Regions from separate parts of the Homo sapiens genome. Here region 1 is linked to region 2. The links are contacts of gene promoters, found by promoter capture Hi-C in human tissues and cell types (Jung and others, 2019). All regions are on one chromosome and are shown on one strand. The core of a region is centred on a gene start or on the middle of the fragment in contact, and the rest is flanking DNA. Distances in the headings are between cores, read along the strand shown. Region 1 overlaps ANKRD31 (ankyrin repeat domain 31). Region 2 holds the start of FAM169A (family with sequence similarity 169 member A).

The links. The method cuts DNA at HindIII sites, captures the fragments that hold promoters and counts their contacts. A contact is called where the count stands out against the background at its distance.
Region 1: a contact is called between a fragment that was not itself captured here and the fragment with the promoter of FAM169A in region 2, in 2 of the 25 tissues and cell types used here (H1 embryonic stem cells and aorta).

The regions. Positions count from the first base shown.
Region 1 is chr5:75,166,718-75,171,061 of GRCh38, forward strand. ANKRD31 (ankyrin repeat domain 31) reads right to left here. Exons shown (of 26, transcript NM_001372053.1): 11 at 2,262-2,404. Among named protein-coding and RNA genes, the nearest start is that of ANKRD31, 68 kb to the right of the region's middle. The HindIII fragment of the contact is 3,856 bases long and covers 1-3,764 here.
Region 2 is chr5:74,864,733-74,869,197 of GRCh38, forward strand. FAM169A (family with sequence similarity 169 member A) reads right to left here and starts at 1,655. Exons shown (of 13, transcript NM_001376049.1): 1 at 1,433-1,655. It overlaps FAM169A-AS1 (FAM169A antisense RNA 1), which reads left to right and starts at 1,161. Exons shown (of 1, transcript NR_134288.1): 1 at 1,161-2,543. RefSeq lists silencers at 1,102-1,271, 1,342-1,591. The HindIII fragment of the contact is 6,065 bases long and covers 1-3,493 here.

The DNA of each region.
Region 1 (4,344 bases), core at 587-3,086, 300 kb after region 2:
AGAGAAATAAAGGTTAGTCTGGCATGACTTGTTCTTAGTGATGCCTATGATTCCCAAAGAGCACTACATTCTTGCCTATGTCTTCCAACCATATATTTAATAACTTTTTGCACATTTTCTAAGGAACAACATTGAGCTGATCATTTGTAATTCTCAAATTCTAACTTTTCCACTCTTTAAAAAATGTATTTATTAACAGTTTTATTAAGATGTAATTCACATGCCACACAGTCTACCTATTTAAAGAATATAATTCATTGTTTTTTAGTATATTAAAAGGGTTGTATAACCCTCACCACAATCTAATTTTGGAACATTTTCATTCCCCCTAAAAGAAACCCTTTAACCATTAGTTGTCACTCACCATTCCCCACCCTCTAGACCCCCCATCTCTAATCTGTCTCTATAGATTTGACTATTACGGATATTTCAAATTAATGGAATGGTAAGATGTGGATTTTTTTTTTTTACTGCTTTTTCACTTTTAGAAAATAGGATATTATCTTTTAGTATCTCTCCCATAAAACAATTAAGACCTGTAAGATAATATATTCTAGTTCCTTCAACACTCCAGAATGCTTAAAGAAGCTCACACTCCCCAGGTAGTAGGACCAGCATTGGGTTCCCAAGGCTTCCCTGTTTTACATCTTTACTCCTGTGACACCAAAGGCATTTCAGCAATCCAATACCCAGGGCCTAGGCCATTTCTCTGATCATCTTTGCCTGACATCACACCAACTACTGGTTTCAACTTTTAATTTTCATGACTTTTCTCTAGACTTCCACTCCTGTCTTGTCATTCTCTTCTCTCACCACTAGTCAGGATATGCCATGGTGCCAAGAGCATATGAACCACAGGCAGATTGGAGGATTGCAAGAGGGAATGCAGTAAGTGGGGAAACTGGATTCTGGGAATAGAGGCCTGTGTCTTTGGTTCCTTTAACATCATTGAAGGAACCAGAGATTATTTCATATATGCAAAGGCCAAATAGGAGACAGCCAATGCTAGACTGTGAGGCAGAAATGGATTAGAGCCAAGTTCGAAGTGGGGCAAAGGAACAAATAGGAAAGAAAAGAAGAAAAATTAAAATGCTCAGGGCTCACTTTACTCAAAGGAAGAAAAGACTCTTGATCAGTATAGGTCAGCTCTGGGAAGTGAGGGAGCAAATGGGCTATGGTGTTAGACAGAAGAAGTGCTTTGGCGTGAGGTTTCTCTGCTTCTGACAGAGAAAGGATTCACACTGTCACATGTCCAAGCCTGCATTCTTCTGGCCATTAAACTGGATCCTGGGAAGAATTCTCTCCTCCTAGTCCTCTAAACTATATGCAAAAATGACCACCCATCACCAAGATATACATTATCAAACAAGCAAACAAACAATGAAAAACAAACAACAAAAAAAACTGCCTAAACCCTTCTGAAGTACTGTTTCATACTATGAAGGAATATGCCCTGTCTATTCCCATGGCTCCCAGCAGCCTTCTCCGCCTCTGCCTGTGTTAGGCATTTCTTCTGTAAATAGGCAGAACAAATCTTCTTAATCCCAGATAGTTAATACCCTTTCCCATCCTAGAAGTTTTTAAACCCAGAGGCAACTTTCAGTAACTGAAATGAATAACAAGATATCTTCAGCAAGTGCCTCAGCCTTGCAATGTTGTCCCAGGGCCAGAAAAAATGTGTAGTAAGCTAAAATAAATATGGTTTCTGAGATAAACCATGTATACTAGAATTCATAATCTTAATGTTACCATTTATTGCAGTTACTATTAACCAACTGGTATGCAATTATAGTAGTCTGATATTTTAACCTGCTGATATATCCTGGCTGATCATTAAGCTGAACTGATCAGAAACATTATCCTGCCTCAGGCTGATTATGAAAGTGACACCAGACTCCATAAAGCTGTAAACCTCCTATCAGGACTGGACATAACTGCGTAACACTCTATAAGAAGGAAACATTCTTCTAAACCCTATAAAGCACCATATTAAAGGAGTTTTAAAGGAAAACAAGTTGAAAAAAAATACTATGTAACCAAAAAGCTCTATATGGTTATTAAAAGTAACATGTAAAATGACACCTATCATATTACACACAACAAACCCATCACACAGTAAAATTTCATTATAAATTCTAAGTATTCATTAGCAGAATGAAATTAAACTAAAATTTCTGTATGTTTTTCTATTGTGTGGTCCCAGAGATATTTAATATTTGCAAAATATAGTATTTGTTCTGCAAATAAAAGCATCACAGTACCTTATAATGTCCATTCATCACTGCATCATGTAGGGGAGTAATCTGGTATAATCCTTTGATATTTACATCTGCTCCACCTTTTAATAGTTCACTTGCTGTCCGATAAAATCCTCCTACACTAGCTTCATGAAGTGCTGTCCAACCTATCATACAAAAAGATACGGCATTTGTTTACATTTGGCATCTTAATAATGTTTTGTGCTTGCCCTTAAAAAACAACTTTGATTCTAAGTTCTTTCTTCAAAAATATTTTGATTATATGAGTCAAGATAGTATCACCTGAAAGCACACTGTATTATTTGGTAGGTTCAATAAACCTGAAGGACAAATCAAACTCCTACCCCTCAACTCTGCTGTGCAAAAATGTGAAAAGAAACAAAATATTTGAAAGTAATCTTGACCTCTCCAAATAAATAGGCTGTGCAGGAGTCATTATCAACTCAAAGTGAATGCTGGTTGCAGGCTGCTTTTCTGCAGAGATGAGGGGAGAAAAGCTTTATTTCTAGTTCAAGGTACTTCCATTAAAGTATCCAGCTGGCTGGACTACATATCACTCAGTTCAAAAGGATATATTCATTTTTTCTCCTTCTTTACAAAAAGCTATTTATAGTAGTTTAACAAACCACAAACTGCTCCAAGAAAACCAGTCATACAGGCAAATATTCTTTTTCTTTGTTGGCCAAGGACAATGGTATAAGTTACAGATATTTATTAAATTCCAGTAAATCATATGACAGATGTAAGAAAACTTTAAAGTTGCACGTCAAAAGAGACTTTCACTAGCTCTTCTCAGAACACTCATCATAAAATAGGGATTACGAATCTCAGCTTATGTTTCTTAGTTTTTATGAGTATCACAGAATGTTTACCAGCATCCCTGGCCTCAACCCACCAGATGATAGTAGAAACTCCTATCCTAGTTCTAACAACTAAACATGTTTCCAGAAACTGCCAAAAGTCCCCTGGGGAGGGGGTGGGAGCAAAAGCACTCCAGTTGAGAACCACTGCCTCAGGGAAGAAGTTTCTCCTATAGTATTATTACTGAGTTTTGACGAAGAAATGAAGAGACCCCAAAATGGTAAATATATAGTTAACAAGGTTTTTTCCCTATAAATTTCCTTAAAATGAATATGGCTTGTTTAAAGCAAAAGTTATAAAATTTATGTCTGTAGATATATATGATAGCTATAGCACAACGGATATGGGGGAATAAATGGACTATATGTATTCAATGTCCTCATATTTCATATGAAGTATTATAATATTAATTCAAAGATAACTGTGAAACATTAGAGGTGTACACTTAATCCCTAGAGTAACTATGAAAAAATACTGCAAAGACAAAGAAAGAAACAAAATACAGATTAAGCACATAGAAAACAATTAGTAAAATGGCAGACCTAAATCCAACCATTTATGTTAAATGTAAATTGACTAATCATGCTAATTTTCAATTAAAAGGTAAGACTGTCTGAATGAATAAAAAAAGCAAAACTGTCTGCTGTTTACAAGAAACATAGTTTATTTTTGTTCCAACTTTTCTTTTAGGTTAAGGTTGTACATGTGCAGATTTTTTAAATGGGTAAATTGTGTGTCACTGAGGTTTGGTGTACAAATGATCCCATCACCCAGGTAGTGTGCATAGTACCCAATAGATAGTTTTTCAACCCATGCCCCACTCCCTTCCTCCTCCCATAAGTAGTCCCCAGTGTCTACTGTTCCCTTCTTAAGAAACATGCTTTAAATATAAAGACACAGATAGGTTGAAAATAAAAGGATAGAAAAAGATACAGTAAAAGGATAGAAAAACATATCGTAAATAAGCAGTAAACATAAGAAGGCTAGATGTCTATATTAATATTATATATAGTAGAGTTCAAGATAAAGTATATTACCAAGCAATAAAGACAGACATTTCATGGTGATGAAAGAGCTAATTTATCACAAGACATGACAATCATAACGTTATGTATCTAATAACAGAGCTTCAAAATATAAGGAGCAAAAACTGCCAGAATCAAAGAAAGAAACAGACAATTCCACAATCACATTTATGAGGATTTTAACATCTCTCTAAAAAAAA
Region 2 (4,465 bases), core at 405-2,904:
AGTCCACTATAATAGCTACAAGATTTCTGTGAAAGACGATCATGTTTTATCTTTGTTTGCGCTTCAAGTGTTAGGATAAACGGACTTTTCCCAGGTGCCTCTCACCATCTCATTCCTTGCCTTTCCTCCAAAACAAGCAAAACTAAAACACTAAAAATTTTAGTCTGGTCCATACTAGTCAATAAAAATCTTTCCTCTTGTAAACACTTTATAGCACGATAAGGGACGTAGTTTGCAAAGATCATCTGTACATCCTGTGTAAAAAATAAAAACGCATGGCACACCAAACCCAGATCCACTTCGGTGAATTCCCTCCAGGGCCCAAATGTGTGCATTATGCAACAGCCAGCACTCCCGATTGTAATCCCTGTCTGTGATGCAATGACAAAATATAAATGGCTTGGGTATAATCTGCTCAGTTCGTAAGTAGTAATTCGCAAGAAGCCAACGAATTAAAAGAATTCCCAAATTCTCAGGAACCTTGAAAATGACAAATTGTGTCACAGTTCTGTGAGAATCACAATGAAAACTTTCCCTTCTGGAAATTTTTTAGAAATATGTCCCTCCGGTCCCAATCCCCCAAAAACCCGTACACACGTTTTAATTTACGTTAGGAACGGCTCTCCCAGCGGGGGAAGGTGACCTGCATCAGGTGGTTATCTTCGAATCCACCCGATACGATACCCACGCCGCTTCCCAGACGCTGAAAAGCCAGTGAGATGCTTCATCCTTTCTCCCCAAGGACAGTCATGGGAGTCAGTGTAATCCAGACCCCCGAGCCATAAACCACCCAGGGTTCAAGGCTTCACCTCCTGAGGCACAGGCCTCTTGAAAAATGGCATAATGGAGAGCTGAGAACACAATTAGGACAAAACTGCAACGACCAGCATTCCAGAGGAGGGAGAATCATACAATATCTGTTCCAAAAGTAGTTACAGGTAAAGGAAGGCGGTCAGAGCATCTCTGGAGGCCACCTGGTCGGGTGAACCGAGTCTAAACGCTGAAGTTCCACACCTCCCCGAGTCCGCGTCTCCCCAAGCCAAAGCAATCAGCTCGCACGCCAAGCATCCAGGTGGGGAGAGGGCGAGGGGAGGGGGCGGCAAGCCGCAGCTGCGAACCGGCCCGCGGCGGAGGCGAGCGAAGACGGGCATTCCCTCACACAAAATGGTGGCGCCGAGGCGGAGGCCGGCGCACCTGGGGGCGCCACACGCCCTACGGGATCCCCGCAGACCGCCGCCAGCTGGACGCGAGCCCCGGGTCCAGGCGGCCCGCACTGGTCTGCGCCAGGCCCAGCCCGCAGGGGCCGCCCACAGCCGGTGGCCCGCGTCGCCGCTCGGTGTCCGCGGGTCTGGTGCTGGCGGGGGCGCGGGGCCCGGCGCGGCCGTCTCGGCCTCACCCAGCGGTCCGCGCCGGGGAGAGGGAGCGCACTCACCTCAGACGCGCCCCGGGAGCCGCTGGAAGAGCCCGGGAAAGGAGGCGGAGCCGCGCGAATGAATGGAGCCGGCGGCTGCTCGCTGGCGACCTCCGGCCGGTCCCAGGCCGCACAGCTCGCGGCTGCCAGGGCGAGTGCGGCTGCCTCCCGCTCGCCCCGGACGCCCGGCTCCTCGTCGCGGGTCGGCCGCGGCCCACCGTGCCCTCCGACGACGTGACGCACTAGCGCCGCAGCGCCTCCAGCCTTCGCTTCCGCTCCGCGCCCGCGCCCACCGCGAATCCCCCCGCCCGCCAGCGCGGAGCGGCCCCTCCTCGGAGCCTGGGACGCCGCCCTGCCTCCCTCCAGCCCCGGCTTTCAGGCGCCGGCCCGGCAGGTGCGGGCTTGGCCAGCCCGGGGGCGTCACGCGGCCCCCGCCTCGCCACCCGCGCCCCCTCTCTCCGCCCCGGCCGCCGTCACCCGGCAGCGCGACGCCCAGCTCAGGGCAATGGCCTGGTATTAAAGAGTGACCTTGGCTTAGATATAAAAATAGATGCGGTTAAGCCGCGGGGGCTGCAACGCTGATTTTGCGTATTCCTTTAATGCCGACCTTCGCAGGATTCTGTTCGCATAGCCCGGTGGAGTTCTCCAGCCCCGCGTAGGCCCTCCTGAAATTTACCCAGAGTGGGCGCGGCCATCCCGGCCTCGGGACAGGGGTGCAGAGGGCACGGGCGAGGACCGCCGGCCTCCGCCCCACCACTTTCATCCTAAACCTACTGCCACTTAGGTGCATGCAAGTTAGAATCGTGGGCTGCTTTCACAGTCTACAGAAGTCCTAGAGCCCGGACTTTCATCTGGAGATGTCAGGGAAATACCACATTCCTGCGCTGACCTTTTCTCTTTCACCGTTTAACCGGTACAGAATAACCCTGACCCAGAAAGACAACAGGGTTCCATCCGGCTTTCCTCCCGTGCCTCTCCCAGCTCTATTCTACCGTCTTATGGCCTCTGGCGCCTTTGCTAATTACACACTCCTACTGAAAATTAGCCCTCCAGCATTTAAAACATGATAAATTGTCTTTAAGGTAATGCGTATTGTAGTCTAAATATATTTAATAACTGTATTGAGAAACAATATTGTATCTAAGTATTAATGTCAAGACTTTCTTTTACTCATCATCCAAGAACCGTAGTATTATGTTCAGCTCATCCAGAAAAGTTGAAAATTGCTTCTTTCATTCCTGGGAAATATTTAGCAATCACAATACCAACTTTCACGAATTTACTAATGATTAGCAAAATTAGCAAGATCAAAAAATACTTCAAAGAATGCTTGTTGATATAGATATATTTGACCCTGATTTTTAAAAAAAGCTTTTCTGCCATATAAGAATCTATTGTTTCATTTGTATAATATTTAATTAGCCAAAATCTTTACTATTACACATCATTTACCATTTTAATGAAACTTAATGAATTAGATTTAATAGAGCAGGAATTTTGGGTAGTTGGGTTCTACCCATAGCCAGTGATGAATGAAATTATATGACTTGTATTTACATTTCTAGAGCTATGTGTAAGTAGGAGTCCCCAGGGTAATCCCAAACAATTGCCATTTGGGGAAGCTTTGGCTACCAGACTATGCCCTACAGATGTTGAAGCCTCAGGCCTTAGTGTAAAGCTAACCAATACAACTTGTTGATAATATTTGAAATGCCTGGGTGTGATTGACTCTTAGCTATTGTTTTAGAAGTATGCGGGTATTTGTGCCTGGGTCAGGGAGGCCTGGCTCCCAGATGTCTGGCTATTCTGGTAGGAGACAGAACTACATTCACCCAGACCTATAAAAGAAAAGGTCCAATTTTTTTTTTTTTTTTTTTTTTTTTTTTTGAGACAGGGTTTCACTCCCACAGCCTAGGCAGGCTGGAATGCAATGGCGCGATCTCGACTCACTGCAACCTCTGCCTCCCAAGCTCAAGCGATTCTCCGGCGTCAGCCTCCGGAAGAGCTGGGACAGAGGTGCACACCAACGCACCTCGCTAATTTTTGTAGAGACGGAGTTTCGCCATGCTGCCCAGGCTGGTCCTGAACTTCTGAGCTCAAGCGATCCGCCCGCCTCGGCCTCCCAAAGTGCTGGGATTACAGGCGTGAGCCACTGCGCCAGGCCTGATTCTCTTTTCCCTACTTGCAAATGACACTATTTTTGAGAGTTTTTGGTTTTTTCTTTTTAAATCACCATTGACTTCCCTCTTTGGCTGAGATAAATTTTGCTTATCTTAGTGGGCAAAGAACAACAACTAAAAACATGAGCCTTTGTCAGATTAGTATATGCTGAAAATTGTTACCACAATATTTTGAAATATGCTTTGAGGCTTTTTTCTGAACCGTTTTTAGAGTAAAAGGATTATTGCTTTGGTTTTTGTTTTTGCAATGCTTGCTTTAATTATTACTTTGTTATTAGCAAAGGAAACATGTTAAGAGTTCGTTCTGATTGTATTTTTCCTCTATGTTTAAAGAGGAGTGGAACCATCTTAAGTAAAAGAAGCTTGCCACAACCCTGGATTTTGGAGGTTACTAATACACATGACCCAGAAAAGAGCTCTTTAGTTGCACTGGGGAAGAGGAATTCTTAATAGCTAAAATCATAACTGATGTTTTTGACAGCTAACAAATTGCCAGGCACTCTACAGACTTCTTTATGGAAATTAATTCACTTAATCCTCTTACCATCCTTGCAGGTATACACTGTTACCCCCAGTTTACCTAAGAGGAGTCTTGAGGCACACAGAGAAACTAAGCAATTTGCCCATGGTCACACAGATAGTAATCCTAGCATGTTGGCTCAAGAGCACACTCCCTTAACCAGAATTCCATACTGCCTTAAATGTGCACAAAATCCTATACCATATGGATAGATTTTGCTTTTGAAGCCCTAAAACATACTAAATGTCCTATACTTTCAAGTTTAAATAATTTCTTAGATCTAGTATTTTCCCAGACAGGAAGGAAGAATTAAAACTAGTTACAAGTTTACAAGTTAGAAAGAAAACTTGTAAA